Regions from separate parts of the Homo sapiens genome. Here region 2 is linked to region 1. Evidence: promoter capture Hi-C in human tissues and cell types (Jung and others, 2019). All regions are on one chromosome and are shown on one strand. Each heading gives the region's core, a stretch centred on a gene start or on the middle of the fragment in contact. The rest is flanking DNA. Distances are from core to core; before and after follow the strand shown. Region 1 holds the start of SKOR2 (SKI family transcriptional corepressor 2). Region 2 overlaps MIR4527HG (MIR4527 host gene).

The links. The method cuts DNA at HindIII sites, captures the fragments that hold promoters and counts their contacts. A contact is called where the count stands out against the background at its distance.
Region 2: a contact is called between a fragment that was not itself captured here and the fragment with the promoter of SKOR2 in region 1, in 2 of the 25 tissues and cell types used here (spleen and thymus).

The regions. Positions count from the first base shown.
Region 1 is chr18:47,249,344-47,253,553 of GRCh38, reverse strand. It overlaps SKOR2 (SKI family transcriptional corepressor 2), which reads left to right and starts at 1,894. Exons shown (of 9, transcript NM_001278063.4): 1 at 1,894-2,180. RefSeq lists an enhancer at 1,510-2,026. The HindIII fragment of the contact is 10,120 bases long and covers 6-4,210 here.
Region 2 is chr18:47,311,326-47,316,241 of GRCh38, reverse strand. The region is part of intron 1 of MIR4527HG (MIR4527 host gene); the gene reads right to left. Among named protein-coding and RNA genes, the nearest start is that of MIR4527HG, 28 kb to the right of the region's middle. The HindIII fragment of the contact is 6,401 bases long and covers 312-4,916 here.

The sequences.
Region 1 (4,210 bases), core at 645-3,144:
TGAAGACCTCGTAGTTCTCCCTCCCCGGCAGCAACCAGATATTTCCCTGTGGTAGTTAGAGAGGTGATAGGACTTCTCCTTTCTTCCCGCTCTCAGTCGTAAAATCAGCCCCATTTCCAGGGTTCGTTTCCACGTGGCTCAAGATTTCTTCCTGGCAGTCTGGGAACTGGGAACGTTTCCCTTTGTGGGAGCCCCTGACCCCAGAGAGGAGGCAGAGGAGGGGAAAAGAACCAGCTTAGCCCTGAAACCTTCTAAAGAGCACTGAGCCTTCGGCCTCAGAGAGAAGGGATTTGTGAATGACAATGGCGCGCTTTTGGCCAATGGGCTGGGTAGGCAGAAAGTGTGAGTTTTCCTTCTTTTTAGGATGGGAGGCTTTGGGGTATTGGCGGGGGAGCACTAGGTTGATTTCAGCCCCTTAGGATAAAGCCCAATTTGTGCCTTGAATGTCTTTAGAAACTAGAAGATGGGTGAAAAATTCTTTCATTGCCCGTTGAAACTTATGCCCAAACGTTTCGATTTTCATGTCTCTGTAACTGTGTTTTCAGGATATTAATTTAAAATAGACACAACTCCTGAGCAACAAGCCCCTCACGTTTCTGTTCAATTGACTTTCCTTGGGTTTATTAACCTTTGATGAAGGTTAAGATTTCACATTTTTGCTCTTGTATTTAGGAGTGGTATGTTGTTGGTGCTATGACACAATCTGGGTGGGCTTTCAGCTTGGTAGATGTTTTTCCATCATTTCCACAATGCTAGGACTGTTTCACTAGGCAGCAATTGAAAATTCAGCTATGGTAGTAAAGGAAAAACTTAAAGGATTTCCCAGCCCCACCCCAGCCGGCATCCTTCTTAGAACATACTCCAAATAAGTGGTTTCTTTCCTTTCCGATAAACTAGCCAGTGGTCGTTTTGACTCTTAACAGCTGGTCAATTGGGACGCACTATATTGACACTTCATTAATACACTAGGGTGCGCCTCATTTAGGGAAACTGTGAGGAAATGTTTTCTCATCCTAGTCTTTATTTTAGGGGAGGAGATCATGCTTCTACATGTTTTCCTGATTAAATTTATTTATTTCTCCAGGAAAATTGGCAACTTGCTGAAGGACTCTTCCATGTGGGGGACCTCCCTGCTTCCCTGCCCCACCCTTTCCTTGTGTAGAGGTAGCCTTACGGATCTTGTAAAATGGGTTAGAGGACGATTCTGAATGAAGTTTGATAAATCGATGTGCATATGCACATATTGGGGTCCTCACCTAATTGTACACTCCATAAAATAGAGAAGGCTGCAGTGACTCTGCATCTTGTCCTATAAAGCAAATGTATATGCAAAAGTCGGGGCACTCCAAGTTTTCTGATTGGGCACCCTATGTGGAAACTTCTCTCCTTTTTCTCATTTCATAGCGTTTCAAAGGAGTCACTGAAGCTAATTTATTCTCCAGCTGACTGTGGATTCTGTCTTCAGACACAGAGCAGCTTTGCATCCTGTACCAGAGGGATCATTCATGAAGGAGGGTGACTCAGAAATGAGGGGAGGAGACAATAACGGTCAGGGATATAGTTAATTTGGAGGCGTCCTTCTAGAATCCGGGGCCTCCAGGATCTAGGTCCCGGGATGCAGGCAGACTGTTCGCTTTCCACTCCTAAATCAGATCTGCGGCTCCAGCACCATTGCTGCAGTTTACTCCGGGGCTGAGGAGGTTGTTGTCAATTGCGAGTTGGTTAGGTTGGTAGCTTTCGTGCCTGCTGAGAAAGGATCTCTCTGTTGCTCGCGCTGGCTTTCGCTCTCCCCCTCCCTCCCTGTAACATGCCAGCCCTTTAATGTGGAGTGTCAGGGAGACGGTGACGTCACCCTGCCCGCTGGGTGGCGTCCCCTCGGTCCGACACGAGTTCAGAGACAGACGCTGTCAGACTGCGCTCCACTTGGGGCTCTCCTGCCGCGGGTTTCTGCGTACCCACACTTTCTGCGGTGGAGGGGACGCCCCGCCGCAATTCAGGCCGTCATTCTCCCCAGGCCGGGGTTTGAGCGCCATTCGCTCGGGCCAGAGCCCGGATCTTCGCGCGGAGCCCGCCAGAGTCCCGCCCGCTGGATACGAGGACCCGCTTGGATGCTTCGCCTCCGAGCGCCCTCGGAAGATGGGCCGGCAGCCACACGCCTAAAGACACCCAGAGGTTACCAGGTATTGCCGGAACCGGCCGCCCCAATCCGGCACACAGCTTGCTGGGCACCTATTTGAGATCCCCAGCGGTAGGATTTTCCGCGTTAGGTTGAGGGGCAGCGGTGGGCTTCCGTGGTGACTGGTTTGGGAGTCGGGAGAACTAAGTTGGGGGTGGGGGGGTCTTTGGCTGTTGGGCAGGATAGGGAAGTTCACCAGGTTCCTTTCTCAGTTCAACTAACTTTTAATTGTCTCTTCTCCCCTCCCCACCCACCCAAAAAATAATGCCCCAACCAAAACCTTGTGTCTGCTCTGACGGCAGTTTCTGGGAGGGCTTGGGGTAAAAGTGAGGAGACACTTCTGCCTGGTCTACTGCTGCTAAGGCTGCGAGTCCTTAACGCAGAGCCAGCTTCCCGCCCCGGCTGGCCAGCCGCGCGCCTTGCTGGGGAGCGAGAGTTGGAATTATCCCAGGGTCTTATTAAGCGGATATGAATCTTGTTTGGTAGGGAAATGAGCATCGAAGGGCCACCTGACGAAGCTAGTGTTGGTTGTATCAGACTCGGGTGTCACTGCGCCTTGAACTGCCATGTAACGCCCTGTCCCCTGGAAATATTGTCTCTGATCCACCCAAAGTGACAAGCAGGCTTTCCTCTCCTTTGATCGCGTCGAGGTTTGTTCAAGCTTCCTGGAGGCCGCCAAATGTAATGAGAACTGAGGATCCAGGGGGCAGCAGGACAGAGGCTGCTGTATAGATGCCACAGGGGCCCAGAGAGAGGACACGGATAAGAAATTGGGTGAGGGAGTAAGATCGTGTACCCTCTGAAAGCACTGTAATAGCGAACTCGCTGTACGTGGCCGAAAGGGGCCACGCTATGGCCTCTGGTGATTTTTCAGGGCAAAGCATGCCTTGGCCAATGCGCTTGAGATGTAGCTGTGGAAAGATCAGTGTTTGTTTTCCTAGGGAGTGAGCCACTTTCCTTCTTTCCACTTAGTGGCATTGTCACTAAAATTTCTTTCCGCTTCCTTGTTCTGTATTTTCAACTTACTGAATATTTTCCCTCATTGTGGCATTCTGTTGACTGGAGGTGAAGTTAGAAATTTTACCACAGACCCAACCTGGGATTTCGACTTTCAACACTCCCATAGATTACCTAGTCCACCGATTGGCTGTATGGTGGGGCAGCTTTTCCCCATAAAGATATAGAGATATCAAAATAAATTAGGGGAAAAGAGTCACAGAAGGTGGTTCACATCAAGCTAAAAAATTTGCCTTTTGAAGTCTGCCAATGAAGATCCCCAAGAATTGTTCATTCCTGTGTACTGTTTCTGGGTTTAACACCCTTGCCTCTACTTACTTTCTTATCGTCATGGAAATGACAGTAAAACAGTTTTTAAATGACTACCATCTTCAACTTCATGTTTTTAAGCTACCTAACCATCTGAGACCAGAACCACTCAGTTCAGCAAGTAGGTTTTTTAAAAACTGAAACATTCTATTTTGGTGCAACGGTGTATATGACTTTGTACATTTTTCACCTTTTCAAAAAAATAATTCTAATTACAGTAACAAAATATCTAATGGCAAGGGTGAGGGAGAAGGCTGATTTCGTTTTGCTTTAATGACCTGTGTTTCAACCAATAATGAATTTCCCCAAGGAAACCATAGACACCAAGAAAATCACTTTTTAAAGGGTTTTGGGGGTTACTTTTTAACCAAAATCAATCTATCTCCAAGCAAATGAGAATGACAGCTCTTTAAATTTGGGTTTCAATGGCCAAGCCCCAGTTTTCCGTAACTTTTATTATCTGTACTAGTTACAACTATCGTTACTATTTAATTTCTAGAAGCAAGCCATTTTATTCCAACGGCTCCTATAAATCCGGGATAAGGTCTTAGGTTTCTTAGGAATTCACTGCTTTTGAGGAAAATACATAGTTAATTCACTTTAAATGTTAAGAAGTGCAAATTCCTGCATTTCTAAAGGATGGCCTTGAAGGAAATTAAGAGATGACTTTCTTGTGTTCAAAACTTGGTCACTTTTTCCAGTAATAAT
Region 2 (4,916 bases), core at 2,263-4,762, 61 kb before region 1:
CCATCTTCCTCTGACCACAGCTTCCAAAGCTGCATGATTGACTCTTATTTGCCTCTAACTTCCAACTTTCTGGCTTCTTGTGCAGAAATATCTGATGAGAGGAAAGAGCCAGGCTCTGCATGCTGACAATGCCAAGGGCCTCCTCCAAATGAATTTCCACTGCAGATATTTAATGAAGTAATGGGGAAACCAGGAAGGTAGTGATCGGGCCAAACCTCCACAACCAGGACTCAAAATAAAAAACTTTTTTTTTTCAACATCTACGGAGAGTTTCTGAACATTCAGATTACCAAGGACACTAAGGTCAGATTAACCCCACCTATTTCATTCACACATGGATCCTTGGGTCCACTGATACGTGAACACCAAGAAAGTCCTCGTTCTACTCATTCAGCAGACATTTCTGAATAACTTATATTCATTCCTCCCTATGCCAGAGGCTTAAAAGAGAATAAGAAATAGCTCTTCTCACACATGGCTAGTAAAGGCAGTTTGATTACTTTGGAAAAGTGTTTGGCAGTATCCACTAAAGCTGAGCATATGCATGCCCTGTTACCTGGCAATCCCACTGTTAGGCATAGGCCCTATAGAAGCACATACAAAGGTTTACCAAAAGACCCATGCTAGAATATTCATAGCAACACTATTTGTAATGGCTAAAACTGTAAACTACCCAAATGCCCATCAGCAGTAGAGTAAATAACTAGATTGTGGTATATTTCCACAGTGGATTATTGTACAGCAATGAGAATGAATAACCTACAGCCACACACAAGAGTATGGATGAATTTCATAAATGGAAAGCCAGACACAAACAAGTTCATACTTTATGATTCCATTTACATAAAGTGCAAAACTAGGCAAAACTCATCTATACTTGGGAGTCAGAGTGGTAGCTGCCTTTGTGGCTAGAGGAGGCTAGAAGGCGGCATGGCAGGGGCATCAAGGCACTGGTGATGTGCATTCCTTGGTCTGGGCACTGGTCACATAGGTGTGTTCAGTTTGTAAACATTCAGCAAGCTATATACTTAGAATATGAGTATCTTTCTGATGCATGTTAAGCATAAGTTAAAATTTTTAAAAACCCACAAATTTGGTCTAGGAGCACAGAGTTTATTGGGCAGATAAGACATAGAAGTGACAATAGATATCATCTTAGCTCCAGCTGCCATAACACAATACCATAGACTGGGTGGCTTAAACAGCAGCAATTTATCTCGTGGTTCAAGACCATGAGAAATGTCTTCCCAGCATCATCAGAGAGAAGGAATCCAAGAGGTCATCTGGTTCAACCCTCTGCCTCCAGCAGAATTGCTCCTAATCCCCCAAAACTGAGAACCAACTGAGCTTTCTGACAATTGTCTAGGGAGAGCCACATTCCACCATATTCTCTCCTTTCTGTCTTTTTCAGTGGTAGTTGGAAGTCTGAGATCAGGGTGCTGACACTGCTGGGTTCTGGTAAGGGCCCTCTTTCTGGCTTGCAGATGGTCACCTTCTCACTGTGTACTCACATGGCCTTTCCTCAGGGGTGGAGTGGGGGAGAGAGGGAGAGGGAGAGGAAGAAACAGAAAGGAAGAGAGAGAGAGAGGAAGAGAGAGGAAGAGGAAAAGAGAGAGAGAGGAAGAGAGAGGGAGAGAGAGGGAGAGAGGGGGGGGAGAGAGAGAGAGGAAGAGAGAGAGAGAGGAAGAAAGAGAGAGGAAGAGAGAGAGAGGGAGAAAGAGAGAGAGAGAGATCTTCCTCTTATAAGGCCACCAATCCTATCAGGTTAAAACCCCATCCTTAAGAACTCATTTAACCTTAATTACCTGCTAAATTCCTGTCTCCAAATATAGTCACTTTGGAGCTAGGGCTTCAACATATGAATTGAAGGGGTCCCTAGCAAGTATCATGCAATAGCAGCAGTCAATGAAATACAGAAGCTATCACTAGACAGCATGGGATACAGGCCATGTGGAAGTTATAGAGAATAAGTGCAAAGATGAGCTTACCAAGGGCTGATGTAGTAAGGATCCTCTTCCTGGAAGGGGAAAAACTTGGGAGTCTTGTTGGAAGAGCAGAGAGAGGAGCTGTTCACATGAGAGGCTAAGGAACTGGAGGGAGAAGCACAGTATGTTCAGGCTGCAGGAAGATGTGCTGGACAATAGCAGCTTTTTGCAAAACGAGTCATCTTATGCCAGCTGGGTATGGAAGAGTGAACAAAGCAGAGGCTGGAGAAGAGGCCAGGAACTGGAAGTCCCGTTGAAGTGGAGGCAGGCGGTCAGCAGGCAGGCAGTCAGGGATGTCCTGTGCCAGGGGCTGGATGATGGGCAGGCAGAGAGCATGAGGGGAGACGTGTCCAGCAGTGAATATGAGGATGGGGGTGGGAAGAGACTGCAGCAACAGCACACAACAGAGGCAGGTTGGGGCCAGACTGAAGTGGGGCTTGCATGCCACACCAAAGGATCTGATCCTCATCTCATGGGTACTTTTAGGGAAAGGCTACATAGATGATTAGCTCACAAAAAGGAGGCCTGTCCATGCATTGGCTGGCAGCCATGCTCATACTATTTGAATGATATAGCAAAAACTGCCTCTGCTGAATAAGAAATCTTGTGCCTCAGCTGCATTTATGAAAGCTTATCCCATCATCACTCAATCATTTTAATGAAGAATTTGTCCTAGGATCACAGACTCCTCAGGTTGTAAGGGCCTCAGAGTCCCTAGTCCAGCATCCCCTGACTTAGTCCTGCCATTCACTAAGGGGTTAAATGAGTTAAATCTGCACTTAGATCCCTGTAGAAACACTTACAATTACATTTGACACGATTTTCAGAATGTCCTGTTGGTAGTGTTAGCAGCTCTGTTGGAGGAGCAGATGTCTGGCTTGTTAGATCCCAACCTAACAGGTAGCTTGAGACAATGGCAAGTGTCCACTCAGAAGCAATGTGGTGCTACAGAATGATGTTGCCTTCCATCCTGAAACAAAAGGAATGTCTCTCTAAACAGCCATATCACAGGCTGAGTTTAATTTTTAAGTGCTTACAACATGGTGTCTTGATCTCCTCCCTGCCAACAGTCTTCAGCCTCCTGGCTCTACCTCCAACAGGATAACCTCAAAAAGGTTATAAATTGACATCACTAAGGCCCAAAGACATGGCAGGGAAAACCCTCCCTGCAATACTGCGTTAATAATACTGAACTCTTGCTTAAGGGTTTGATTTCTCTCAAAAACACTCATTCCAGGAGACTTTACATTGCCGAAGGAATTTATTTGCCAGCAGTCCTCCTTTCAGGGAGACAGGACAGGTGAACCTTGACCGCTCTGCATTCTTGAAATGCGTTCTTCCCTCTTGGTTTTCCTCCTACCTCCCAGGCCTCTTCTTCTCTGTCCGTTCATTGGTACCTGCTCCTCTGCTTGCCATCTCAGTATTGGCCAACTCAGATCTCAGCCTGGGGGTCTTTTCTCATCTCCATTTATACTGTTTGGATGAGCTTATTCAGACCCAAATCTAACTATTTCCAGTGCCCCTATGACTGCCAGGCATGTGTCTTCAGGCTCCTGAGGAGAGACTCATGCATCCTCTGGCTCCCTGGCATGTGCACCTGCTGTTGGCAGCACCTGGGGCAAACCCCAGCTAATATCACTTCCCAGCTTCTTTAGATTAAAAGCAATGTCCTGAAGTTGCCCTTCAATGCTGTACATGAGCTGGCCCTTTTCTGTGTCTCCAATGTCACCTCTGGCCACCCCCTCTCTCACTTCTGTTAACTCTCCAGCTCCTTCCTCCATAGGGCCTTAGTGCTCATTAACACCCCTGCTGGAATGTTCTACCCCAAGACTTCAAGTACCAGGCTGCTGCTTGTCATTCTGACTCACCTAAATGTCACCTTGCTAAGAAGTCTTCCCTGCCCTTCCCATCTCCACTCACCGACTTCCTATCTCATGGCCCTGTTCGGTATCTTCACAGCATTCCCCACTGTCTGAAATGAGCTTGTTTGTATATTTGCTCACTAGTTTATCCCACTGCCTCTTCCTCTAAACTACAGTCTCTGGGAGTGCACAGATCTCACCTGTCTCATTCAACACCCTATCCCCAGTACCAGAAACAGGACCTGCATGTAGACAAAGCTGAATATATGTTTGTGAAGGAATAAATAAAATCATCTGAAGAGAGTAGAGAAAAAGCATCACAAAGGGAGGAAGACACTGAAGACCAACCTCCCTCACTTTCCAATGTCCCTAGGGACCAGCTTTGTTCTACAACATGAGTGGAGGACACAGGTGCAGACTGTGAAAGGCCAGGAACTAGAGACCTCCAGTGCAGCCACAGAGCCCACAGCCATAAGAGCACCCTCCAAAGAATCAGCAAAGACAGATGCAGGCCCATCCAGGGCAAATGAAGATTTAGAAGAATTGTGCCATTTCTTCACATGGCCAGAGGCCATGGACTCTGGGAAGAGAGAGTTTGCAGAGTTCCCTGTGCCTTGCACATGCGCATTCCCTCCTGAATACTTTCCTTTCCTTCCTCAGCAGGCTGTTTCCGCTCTTCTGCTACAGGCTGATCAATGACCACTCAAAAGATATCAAAAACTAATCCCTGGGACCTATGAATGTTATTTTTACAGGAAAAAAAAAAGTCTTTGCAGATGTAAGGATCTTAAAAAAGGGGAGATGATCCTGGATGATCCAGGTGGGCCCTAAGTACAATCACGTGTTCTTACACAAAAGACACAGAGGGAGACTTTACTCAAACCAAAGAGGAGAAGGCAATGTGAAGGCTGGGGCCAAGAGTGGAGCCACAAGCCAAGGAATGCCAGCAGCCACCAGACACCAGAAGAGGCAAGAAATGGACTGTTTCCTGGAGCCTCCAGAGGAAACATGGCCGGGCCAACACCATGATTTCAGCCCCACGAAACTGATTTCAGACTTCTGGCCTCCA